Regions from separate parts of the Homo sapiens genome. Here region 2 is linked to region 1. The links are contacts of gene promoters, found by promoter capture Hi-C in blood cells and fetal thymus (Javierre and others, 2016). All regions are on one chromosome and are shown on one strand. The core of a region is centred on a gene start or on the middle of the fragment in contact, and the rest is flanking DNA. Distances in the headings are between cores, read along the strand shown. Region 1 overlaps TNS3 (tensin 3). Region 2 holds the start of LINC00525 (long intergenic non-protein coding RNA 525).

Evidence for each region. The method cuts DNA at HindIII sites, captures the fragments that hold promoters and counts their contacts. A CHiCAGO score of 5 or more calls a contact.
Region 2: the fragment with the promoter of LINC00525 here is called in contact with a fragment that was not itself captured in region 1 in 6 of 17 cell types (total B cells, naive B cells, M1 macrophages and 3 more); the score reaches 17.9 in total B cells.

The regions. Positions count from the first base shown.
Region 1 is chr7:47,490,712-47,497,267 of GRCh38, forward strand. All of the region lies in intron 3 of TNS3 (tensin 3), which reads right to left. Among named protein-coding and RNA genes, the nearest start is that of SNORD151, 29 kb to the left of the region's middle. RefSeq lists enhancers at 2,878-3,469, 6,536-6,556. The HindIII fragment of the contact is 1,379 bases long and covers 3,618-4,996 here.
Region 2 is chr7:47,757,546-47,763,440 of GRCh38, forward strand. It overlaps LINC00525 (long intergenic non-protein coding RNA 525), which reads left to right and starts at 3,931. Exons shown (of 3, transcript NR_038407.1): 1 at 3,931-3,968; 2 at 5,828-5,895. The HindIII fragment of the contact is 4,383 bases long and covers 2,928-5,895 here.

The DNA.
Region 1 (6,556 bases), core at 3,057-5,556:
CATGAGGGCGTTTGTGACCTTCTGGCCACCCAGTCCCCCTGTCAGCACCACATGAAGCAAGCACTGCCCAGCCAGCTCACGAATCCATCACAGCTTGTTGGTTTCAGCCACTGAGTGTACAGGGGATTTGTTAGGCAACAACAGAGAACAGAAATAGTGTGCCCAGCAATGCGCACAGCCCCAGCATGCCCAGACGAGTGTGTTGGGCACCAGAATGCCATCCTTCAGTGCTCTGTGTCGGGAAGTAGAGGAAAGGGGCTCAAAATCAGCACTTGAAAAAGCCAACAGCAGCAATGAGGCCATGAGCTGTCACAGATGAGGAGATTTCAGCCGCCGATGGTGGGGGCAAGAGGCCGACAGAGCGCGGCTGTGGCTTCAGCACGAGGCGGGCAGACATGACCCAGGACACTAGCCAGTGGGCAGAGAGGCAGAGGGGCAGCCTCTCGTCCATCTACGCTGCGATTCACCAAAAAATGCATCAGGCTGAACATGCACGGTATGTGGTGTTCTTGAATGTAAGCTTCGGTTTTAAACAAATATGTATTTTAAACCATATATATACTGTTTCAAGCCCCAGAGTGACTGGACAGAACCGAAAAAGCTCTGTCTTTGCATCCAGAGACTGAAATTAGGGCAAGCCCTCTGCTTCTCCCAGCTGGCTCTGATGAATTTACGGAGACTGTCCTCTGTGAACTCAATTTTCCTCCTCATCTGTGACATAGGGATAATACGACCTCGCGGGGTGGATGTGAACCTCAAGCTCATAGGAAAGTCTTGACAGTGGGACTATATCAAATATACACTGTCAGATTGGAGTGAGGGTGAAAGGGGACCCCACGGCCTTTCAAAGACAGCAGCATAGTTACCGAAGGCCATCTCAGTCGGCCATACAGACTTTGCCTCTCTCCTGAAACACGAACTCCATATTTTTCAGACTAGGCATTTCCTGGACAATTTTCTGATGATGAGGCTGCAGCAATGAGACTGATTCATGATAATACTTAACCAGGGGCAAAACAGACATGTCCCTCGCCCCGTCCTGTTCACCTGAAGGAAGGCAGGGAGGAACCACTGCCCAAGACCATAGGCCTGAGTGGGACGGTGAAACCCGAGAGTCATGTCCTACAGAGATGGCCCCGGGTGTATGTTGATGTGTGCATGGCCCCATCAATCACAGCCAGTTCCTGAGAGCGATCCTACAGGCTCCTGGAAGGACGGGTCCAGATGCCATGCCTGACACCATGAACATTCTAAAACACTCAACTGGTAGTCTAAGCAAATGAAGGAACGCTTTTTGATTTTGCTTTGATTTATTCATGTTTAACATACAAGTTAAAATACCTGACTCTGAAGAAGCTGTAGGGGCCTACTGAGTGGGGACCTTAACTATTGGCACCAGAAATGGCTCCCTTTCCAACTGTGTGCCAGTGACTCCTAATCCCACTCACGAATGACAGGGAGTCATCATCTCATGTCCACCCTACACTGGCTTTCTGTCATGGCTCTGGCCACCCCACAGTGGGGGCAGCCCCTCACCACAGCTCTCTGTTTGGCCAGCAGCAGGAAGGCTGGGTTTGGAGCCCATGTGCCTGGTGCGCAGGCCTTCATGGAGGACACAGCCGCATATCGGCAGGCTGCCCTGCCTGCCGCACGGTAGACTCCAGGGCCTGGCACTGTCAGCTCCCCACACCTGATCTCTTCTTATCCTCTTTCCTCACCTGCAGCCAACATAGTCCAGGCTCAACTCCCTTGCCTAACCCTACCTCCCACCTGTGAGCCTCAGCCCAGGCTGCTCCCTCTGCCTGGAAAACCACCTGCCCACCTCCTACTGGGCAGGTGCCTGTGCCTCAAGGCCCAGTGGCAAGGCCCCTTCTTCAGGAGACACACAAATAAGATGTGCTTTTATTTCTGCTTCAAGAGAAGAGCACAGAAATGTTATGACCCTCTGCTCCTGTGATTTTGTAATATCCTCTTCTTATTTTAAAGGAAAAGGTCCAAGGAGGCAGTAACACTAAAACAAAGCACAGTTTTCCGAGGCTTTTAAAATGAGGGGTGGGCCCCACATCCACCAGGGAGCAGGCAAGCAGGTGTTTGTATTTTCAACCACGCCAGCCTCATGCTGAGAAAGGCGGGGTTCCGGACATGGAGCTCTGGAGCAGGAGGAGCTCCCACTGCCTGTGAGAGCCAAGGCCCGTTCATCAGGACGGCACTGAGCTCACAGGGAGCAGAGCCTCGGGCGATGACATCAGCTAATGCCACCCCCAGCTCCTGCTTCTTGGGGGTCTGTGGCATCTGAGGTTTCCATATGAAATCAATAGCAGGCTCTTCATATCAAGCCCTGGCTTCCACTGACCTGTTGCTAATGACAAGGCAGAGGAAGTGGTCACCCCTAGGGAGGGGATGCCCAGATCTCGAATAAAACCACCCTCCAGAGTGAAGCGCAGAGCTCTGACAGTCAATGTTCAGTGGTCATCCGTAAAGAAAAGGAATAGCACAAATAAGTGAGCTGGTCACTTCGCCAGACTTTGGGTCAGTTGTCTCAACCTCTCATTCATTCATTCATTGCAGAATGGCATATCAAATATCACACTTCGGGGCACTCGGAGATGAGAAAGAATTAGCAGTTGCCTTCGAAATTCAGTTTAAAATGGAAGAAAAGGTATAAACATACAACAGTTATTCAGGGAAGAAAATGGTAAATTCCACAAAGGTAGGCACCAGAGAAATTTTCCCTGAAATACATTTTGGCAAGAGTGTTTAACAATCACATGATGAACAGTTTGGGTTTTACCAACTGTCCTTTGCTCTAAAGAAGGCTGACAAGAGGCCGGGCGCGGTGGCTCACACCTGTAATCCCAGCACTTTGGGAGGCCAAGGCGGGTGGATCACGAGGTCAGGAGATCGAGACCATCCTGGCTAACACGCTGAAACCCTGTCTCTACTAAAAATACAAAAAAAAAAAAAAAAATAGCCGGGCATGGTGGCGGGCGCCTGTAGTCCCAGCTACTTGGGAGGCTGAGGCAGGAGAATGGCATGAACCCAGGAGGCGGAGCTTGCAATGAGCCGAGATCGCGCCACTGCACTCCAGCCTGGGCAACAGAGCGAGACTCCGTCTCAAAAAAAAAAAAAAGCTGACAAGAAAAGAAAACATGAGAAACCCTAAGAGCTCACAACTTATCAAATCTTTTAAAATTAAGCATTGAGCTGCAAATGGCCAACTGGCCAACTCTAATGTCCACATAAGCATATTTCATGAAACCCAAACTAGTTCCTGCTGGTCTGAAGCTAAACTGCCACCCCTGTTCACAAAATCTTGATAATGGCATTCCATTTAACTCTAATGTCCACATAAACATATTCCATGAAACCTAAACTGGTTCCTGCAGGTCTAAAGCTAAACTTCCACCCCTGTTCACAAAATCCTGCCAGTGGCATTCCTCTCTGCCCAGTGTCTCAAATTCAAAACCTAAGGATTACTCACAAGCCGTGCCTCTGACCCACCGGGTGGGTATGCCAATCCTAACAGGTCTACCTTTAAAATGCCCACAAGTCTACTTCCTACTGACCCCACCCATTGTTCAAGGTTGGGCCACTCCAGCTCTTGCTGGGCAGTGCTAAGCTTTCTAACCAACCTCCTGAGGTTCAATCGACTCCCCTCCAAATGCTTTTTAGAAGTAAAGAAACCTCTGAAAAAGCGAAAGGTTTTAGATAAAGATTCTGAAAGCAGAATTTCTCACATCACAGTATTGCAACCATTCAGCCATTCTATCCACTCCACCTCCCCTGAAAGACACAGTTGTGAGTTTGTTATTCTAAAGACCTTCTGAACAGGGGGCAGTTTCCAGTGATAAGGGAGGGTTAACAGCTCAGATCCTTGCACACCGCTTTATTAAGAACAGAAAGGAAGCCTGCGGGCTTCGGAAAGTTCCAGGGTAATTTGGAGTTGAGGGTGCACAGACACACACACAGTGCGCAGAAAGGCAGGAGTTGAAATGCCTAGAAACACACAAAAATGAACTCCGCCAGCTGCTCCCGGGAGGCGGAGAGAGGGCGCCCCGCGAGCTATTTCTGTGCTTGACAGAAAATGGGAGTAGGCACTTCCTGAATCCCTGCCTAAAATTAACTGCTTTACAAAAGGGGGGAAGGGGAAACCCATGGTGAAACAAGTTTTATTTTACAATTCAAAATCTGGAGGTGGGGATTTGAATGCTTCGTTATGGGTTTTGGCCCCGCTGATAAAAATGTGGCTGAAAAAAAGAAGAAATGGGGGCTTCACTAGGAAACCTACCCTTCAGAAGTAGCCCCACAAAAATAAAGCCAGCGGTTTGATTAGAAACGTTCTTCTCCCCGGCGCCTGTAGTCCCAGCTACTCGGGAGGCTGAGGCAGGAGAATAGCGTGAACCCGGGAGGCGGAGCTTGCAGTGAGCCGAGATTGCGCCACTGCACCCCAGCCTGGGCGACAGAGCCAGACTCCGTCTCAAAAAAAAAAAAAAAAAAAAAGAAACGTTCTTCTCCCCATGGAACGTGAAGCCATGTCTCAATGAGAGGCATGAAGGCGCATGCACAGCAACACTGGTGCAGTCGCCAGAGAGCACAGGCTTCAGTGCCGCACATCAACTAAGTGCCTGTCCTGTGGTCTAGGGGGCTGAGACTCATGGACACACACGCTGACAACATGAGAGGGCAGCGTCTGGGGCAGGGGCTGCACGAGACAGAGTGGGGTATCTGGAAGTATGGTGGGCACAGGGCCACGACCCCCGCCCTGAGGACGAGGCCTGCAGAGGTCTCTCCTAGCCTGACAGGGATGGTTATGTCCCAACAGGGGCGGGCTTCCAACACCTCTCCCAGCCTGAACTCAGGCTCTGGAAGACCTGAGTCTGAACGGGCCATAGAGAGGTCTCAGGAACAAGATCCCACTGGGAACCTACACTCAGAGCCAGAATGCAGTCTCCCAGCCAGAGCCAGGGCCCAGGACTGCCAGAAAGTCCCGGAGATAAGCTTCTGCAGAGATGACATTGCTAGATGCCAGGGTGGGTGGCATCCATGTGGAAGAATGACTGTAGTAGAAATTTTAAAAAGATGCACTGCATATGGTGTCTAAACATTGAAAGAGAACAGGCCGTTCTGCAGCTCCCCAACTGCAGCACACCTTCCTCCTCCATCTCGGCAGAGGGAAGGGGTAAGGACAGACCACTCAGGAGAGCAGTGGACGAAACCACACACATTATGACAAGTGGATTTCTAACCTGGACAGAGCCAGAGGCAGGGTCAGAGAGGAAGAGCTGTGATCCAGAAGGAGCACACGGTGCCACAGGGCTGGGGAGAGGCCCCGATGCCACCCAGCCCAGAAGCCCAGAGGTGAAGAGGCCCTGGATTGAGGAGAGGAGAGGACCCCAGTGAGCCTGGAGGAGGGGTGACAGGATAATGGGAGGAAGCATACATTATAGACTCTGAGCAGTTCAAAAACTGAATGGTGGTCTGAAAAAAGGGGTAGTAAGATAAGCACGTCAAAAAAGGACATCACTGAACAGGATGTGAGCTCACACAGGGGAATACAGAGTTTGGGGTCTTCTAGAAAGGGGCCAAGGGCTCCTGCAGATGGCAGCCAGAGTCAGCAGAAAGAGCACCTGGGGCCACATGTGTGGAAGGAGGGACGTTTCCCCTGTGACCAGAGCTGATGGGCAGGAGGTGCTGGAGCCAAATGGCATTTTCAGGAGTGTTTCAAGCTGATTAATGTCAGGCTGGTAGCTTGGAAGCAGGCGGGGGGAGGTGAGGTATTTTCACCAGGGGAATCAGCAGAGGCTGCCAATCAGCCCGCTGCACCCCCAGCAGGGTATAAACCCTCATCTGCACACCACCGGCCAGAACGTGTTTCAAGAGAAGCGGGAGTAAAAGCGATGGTGGCCAACGCAAACAGAGTCTGAGTGGGAGAGTCCACGCACACGCAGTACAGAACGCCAGGCACAGGTGAGAGAGGCGGAGGGCTGGGGATGCATCTGTACCTGCTCGTCAGGGGCTTGTGGGAAATCACATCAGAAGTCCAAGACCAAGCAGGCAGGGACACCTGCAGCACCCAGCTCTGCCCTAGGCCCAGATACCCTGGCTGCAGCGATGTGGGCCAGGACTACGGAAGTCCTCTGTGGGGTGAGCCAAGGCAGGGTGAGCCTGTGCAAATGCAGGAGGCTGGGGGGAGTAGAAAGAAGGGCAGCCAGTCAGGGGAAAGGTCACAGAGCTGGCCAGAACCAAGGCAGCATCGAGCAAGAGGCACTTGGATTCCAGTGTCAGAAAATATTAAGCCCACGGCTCTGCCATTAGCCATATGGAACCACTTTCAGGTGGGCCTCAGGCTAAGTCTGAGGCACTAATTAAGCCCACTAAATGGAATTTGTTTGCTTAAAAGAGCAGACCCCATTCTCAGAAGAAAATTTAGAAAATATATATACTTTCTTGTCATTTAACAGTTAATAAATAAAATGCATAGTGATTTATGCTAGCGGTAGGCAACATTTCATGAAATAAATCTACTAGCGTCAGTACCACAACTGCAGAAAGAGTA
Region 2 (5,895 bases), core at 2,681-5,180, 270 kb after region 1:
TAGAGCCTGGTTGGAGAGTTGACTGGGCAGGAAACCACCTGGATATGCCACTGTAAAAACCCAGGCAGAAAACAAGGTGGTTGAAGCAGGTGAAGCAAATGGTGGGTGGCCGGCAACAGGGGTTGCTTCACTGATTGGATGTCAGGGGAGAAAGTGGCCAAGGACGGGAAGTCCAGGATGAACTGGGCCTCTGGCTTGAGATGTTGGATGGATGCTTGGGCCAGTCACTGTCATAGGAAACTCAAGAGTTAGGGGCACACTTTGGGGGAAGTTACTTAGTCTTTTGATACCTTAGTTTCCTCTGCTGTAAAATGAAGAAAACATCATATACTTGGCAGTTGAAATAAACATTGGAAAATTTTATAAAACATCTGAAAGTGCCCAGGAATGGAGACTGTCATCAGAAATGCTTTTTCCACTAAGTGTCTCATGGCACTCCTGTTTGCAGGCGCGGCGGCTCCTCCCCACAGTCAGGCACGCTCGCCCACACTGCATCAGAACATCTTGTTCCTGCAGGATGGCCCAGCCCTTCGCTGGCTGCCCTGCCGGCCACGGGACCGAATCACCATCACTCTCACCCACAAAGCTGCTTTTGGAATGCAGGCATTTCATGGTGTGGGAAGACAGTATTTTTACACTTTTCTCAGAAATTGGTCAAATTCTTTTTGCTCCCTGCTATTTTTCCCCTTCTCCCTCTCCCCTTTCCCTTTTCTTCATTCCAGCAATAGCTAGATCTCTACTGCACCCGAGAAAGGACATGACAGTGGCAAAGCAAAACAGTAAACAATCAACAACAAAACTCCTGAGCCCAGCTGGCTTTGATTTCCCAAAGCAAATCAGTCAAGTAATTAAGAAGGCATGAGAAAAACAGAAACACACACACACAATCTTTACTACCTGTGGGGAGGATTGTGAGGGAAAAAGAAAAATATATTCCTCTGTACCCCATGGGTTATGGAAGGAAGTGACAGATGTGAGGAGTGTGTGAGAGACAGAGACAGAGAGACAGAGACAGAGATAGAGAGACAGAGAGACAAAGACAGGAGGGACAGAGACAGACAGAGGAAGACAGACACAGAAATAGAAAGAGAGACAGAACAGAGAGAGACAGGCATAGACAGAAGTGTCTCCTGAGGTTGGGCCTCTGAGTCCTGCTCTCTGGGGAGTACTCTAGAAAAATGGCAAGATCTCAGGGACCTTGGTGTGTAGATGACTGATCGCCAAAGCAGGAGCTCTGGTCTTAGGCCAGATACACTGAAGCAGCCAAAGAGTCAAGTTTCCCTCTGGGCCGTGCCCTGGGGGTGCAGGGGTATATGAAAAGCTGCAGCTGGGTGCAGTGTTCCTCTAGGGCTCAGGAGAAGTGACAGACAGAGAGCCCAGGAAGCACCCACAGCCTGGGCCTGGCGCGTCCATTGGTGTGACCAAGACCTACATACAGAAAGGTGAAGGTGCACAATGAACTCAGACTTTATCTGAATAGGGGTAAGATCCATTTCAAAATTGGAAGTGGGGCTGATTTGAAAGAATCTATTTTATGAGGATAAACTGATGATGAGATAAATTCTATAGATAGGGTTTTCCTTGACTTCTAAGAGAATAGATACACAGAAGGTAATTATTGAGTTAGAGTTGTCTTTTGTTTCTAAGAAAATGATAAGACAATTTATATTTTTCACAGCCTTGCTTTCTTGCTCCACCAGGGGTCACAGCTGATCTTACACATTTCGGGGTGTGGGCACAACTTCACCACTCTTCCAGGGACCAATGTAAAGCCACCCTGGCACCACCCTTTGCTTACTGAAGATTCCCCCACCAAATCCACGTGCTACCTGTGCCTCATCCATCACTGGTTAATTACTCTGATTAAAATAAAGCAGTGATTTGATGTTTCCAAGGAGCTTCATTAGAATGAGAAAAAATTATATTTACCAAGGAAAGGAGGAAATGGTTGAATAAAAAATATGACAAGTAATTTAATTTTAGGTCAATGAATGCTCCACTGTGATTCAATTCTGACACATGAAACAAATAATGAGATGATCAAGCCCTCTTCTTCCTTGCAGAAACTCGCTAATCCATATGAATGGTCTGTTGTTCACGAGCATCTGGTTCCCTTAACAACCTGTGGCCTGTTTACTCCATGGGGAGAATCTGGTCCTCAGAGCAGCTTTAGGGTCCATGCACCTTACTGGACATCCATAATGCACCACAGAGTGTGGTGCAGCAATATGCCATGTGAGGATTTTTTAATCCTTGAAAAGTTGGGTGAAGAGGATAAGATTTTTCGTATAAGATAATACAGGCTTCAAAAAGTTGGAAAAAGAGCACATTTAGAAAGTCCCAGAGCTGGGATTTGAACCCCTGTGCTTCTGATTCTAAATTGCTTCCCACCACGCTCATGGTGACCTCTAGAAGGTGTTAGTGAGGTGGAGATGTACCCGGTAATCCTGCCAGTGCATCTGTGCACTGATTCTCTATTGCTGGCTGTCCTTCTTGGCATCTTATTCAACAATAGCTACTGTAAGGGGGGAAATAGTCTTATATTTTGTGAAAGAACTCAAATGGCCAATTCATATATGGCCAGTTTACTTAAGAATGAATTACCGACCGGGCACAGTGGCTCATGCCTGTAATCCCAGCACTTTGGGAGGCTGAAGCGGGTGGATCCCCTGAGGTCAGGAGTTTGAGACCAGCCTGGCCAACATGGCAAAACCTCATCTCTACTAAAAATACAAAAATTAGCCGGGTGTGGTGGCTGGCACCTAAAATCCCAGCTACTTGGGAGGCTGAGGCAGAAGAATTGCTTGAACCCAGGGGGCGGAGGTTGCAGTGAGCCCAGATTGTGCCACTGCACTCCAGGCTGGGCAACGGAGCAAAAACAAAAAACAAAAAAGAATGAATTACCAGGCTCTAAAAACCTATCAGTAAGCTTTTTTTTTTTTTTTTTAAAGACGGAACTTGATGCTAAGGAAATTGCAACAACACAATGTCCTAATACACTGTTGACAAGATTAAAAAATTTTTTATTTTTAATTTTTGTGGGTACACAGTAGGGGTATATATTTATGGGGTACGTGGGATGTTTTAATACAGGCATGCAATGTGAAATAGGCACATCATGAAGAATGGGGTATCCATACCCTCAAGCATTTATTCTTTGTGGTATAAACAATCCAATTATACTTTTAATTATTTTAAAATGTACACTTAAATTATTATTGACTATAGTCTCCCTGTCGTGCTATCAAATAGTAGGTATTATTCATTCTTCTATTTTTTTTTTTGGTACCCATGAACCATTCCCACCTTATCTCCCCAGTCCTCTACTATCCTTTTCAGCCTCTGGTAATCATCCTTCCTATTCTCTATGTCCATGATTTCAATGGTTTCGATTTTTAGATCCCACAAATAAGTGAGAACATGTGATGTTTGTCTTTCTGTGCCTGGCTTATTTCACTTAACATAATGTCCTCCAGTTTCGTTCCATCCATGTTGTTGCAAATGACAGGATCTCATTCTTTTTATGGCTGAATAGTACTCCATTGTGTATATGTACCACATTTTCTTTATCTGTTCATCTGTTGATGGACTGTAAATTTGCTTCTAAGTCTTAGCTATTGTGAACAGTGCTGCAACAAACATGGGAGTGCAGATATCTCTTCAATATACTGATTTCCTTCCTTTTGGGTATAGACCCAGCACTGGGATTGCTGGATCATATGCTAGTTCTATTTTTAGTTTTTTGAGGAACCTCCCAACTGTTCTCCATAGTGGTTGTACTAATTTACATTCCCACTAACAATATACTAGTGTTCCCTTTTCTCCACATCCTCACCAGCATTTGTTATTGCCTGTCTTTTGGATAAAAGCCATTTTAACTGGGGTGAGATATCTCATTGTAGTTTTGATTTGCATTTCTCTGATGATCAGTGACGATGACCACCTTTTCATATGCCTGTTTGCCATTTGTAAGTCTTCTTTTGAGAAATATCTATTCATTTCTGATTTTTTATTTGGATTACTAGATTTTGATTTCTGATTGGATTACTAGATGTTTTCCTGTTGAGTTGTTTGAGCTCCTTATATATTCTGGTTATTAATTCCTTGTCAGATGGGTAGTTTGCAAATATTTTCTCCCATTCTGTGGGTTGTTTCTTCACTTTAAGAAGATCATTAATTGCCTTAATCATTCTAAAAAGTGATTTGGCAAATAAGGGTTGAATTGTGTCCCCCAAAATGTCTATGTCCAAGTCCTAACCCCTAGTACCTCAGAATGCAACTGCATTTGGAAACAGGGTTTTTGAAAATGTGATCAAATTAAAATGAGGTTATACTAGAGTAGAGTGGGCATGTAATCCAATATGACTCATCCAATATGACCGGTGTCCTTATAAAGAAGAGGAGATTTGGCTGGGCATGGTGGCTCATGCCTGTAATCCCAGCACTTTGGGAGGCCGAGGTGGGTGGATCACCTGAGGTCAGGAGTTCAAGACCAGTCTGGCCAACATGGAGAAACCCTATCTCTACTAAAAATACAAGAAAAAAAAATAGCTGGGCATGGTGGCAGGCACCTGTAATCCCAGCTACTTGGGAGGCTAAGGCAGCAGAATCGCTTGAACCCGGGAGGCAGAGGTTGCAGTGAGCCGAGATTGCGCCATTGCACTCCAGGCTGGGCAACAAGAGTGAAACTCCATCTCAAAAAAAAAATTAATAAATACATAAAAAATAATAAAAAGGGGAAATTTGGACCCAGACATGCCTGGAGGGAAGATGATGGGAAGAGACACAGAGAGAAGATGGTTGTCCTCAAGCCAAGGAGAGAGGCCTGCAACAGATTCTCCTTCAGCCTTTAGAAGGAACAACACTGCCAACACCTTGATCTTAGACTTCTGTCCTCCAGAAATTGTGAGACAATGCATTTTTGTTGTTTAAGGCAACCAATTTGTGGAACTTTGTTCTGGCAGCCCTAGCAAATGAATACAACAAAATATATACTGTATTGAGAACCTTAATATTGGCAATACCATTTGCACAGGAACTCCTTGCCTTTGGTTGCCACCTAAGAAATCATGCATATGGACATGGAATTACACATAAAGTATATTTAGCTAGTTTTTCTTCAACATGCTATTGCAGGAGGACAATTCAAAAATCTTTCCAACTCCCACCTGATTTCTGAAGGTTCTCTGGGAGCCTGCGCATCAGCCATCAAAACACACTTGTCACATTTTTCTTTCCTTTTGGCCTCCTTTAGTGAAGTCAGCTGCCTGAGGCTGGGCGGAGGTGCTCAGCACTCCCTCTGGTTTGTGGGGGGCTGGGGTGGGTCACACTTATTCTACTGGATATCACTGTTCCTGGGCCCTGCCACCACTCTCAGCCCTGGTGCTGTGGATTCTGTTCATGAGAGGGGCTGAAGTCAAGCCTCCCTCTCAGGCCCAGATCTGAGTCTACAGGTCAGCCGGGGCTGGGGCCTCACGGTAGCAGGTGGTGACAGAGGACATGTCATTGTCGCAGTCACTGAGGACACTGGTTCTCATAGCCCAGCCTCTGTGCCTGGACCTCAGCTATAGGCCTGGCCCCATTGTGCTCTCCCTGATGAGAATCTCCAGGCCTTGAGCTACCTGACTCTTCCCAGTTGGCCAGACACATCCCAGTGAATGATCATCATCCTGCTCTCATCTCATAGCCAGCTGATCAGTCTGTTCACCCTCCACCTACTCAAGTACAGAGTGACACACCCCAAGCAACAATCGCATGAGAAATTCTACCACCTGGGGAGGGCAGAACTGGGACAGACTTCTTTCATTTTCTGATCTGCTTTTGCCAGATGTCCTCTGTAGCAAGAGGCAGGACAAACAGTGAGGACTGCACCAACACTCACCGGGTGACCCCTTT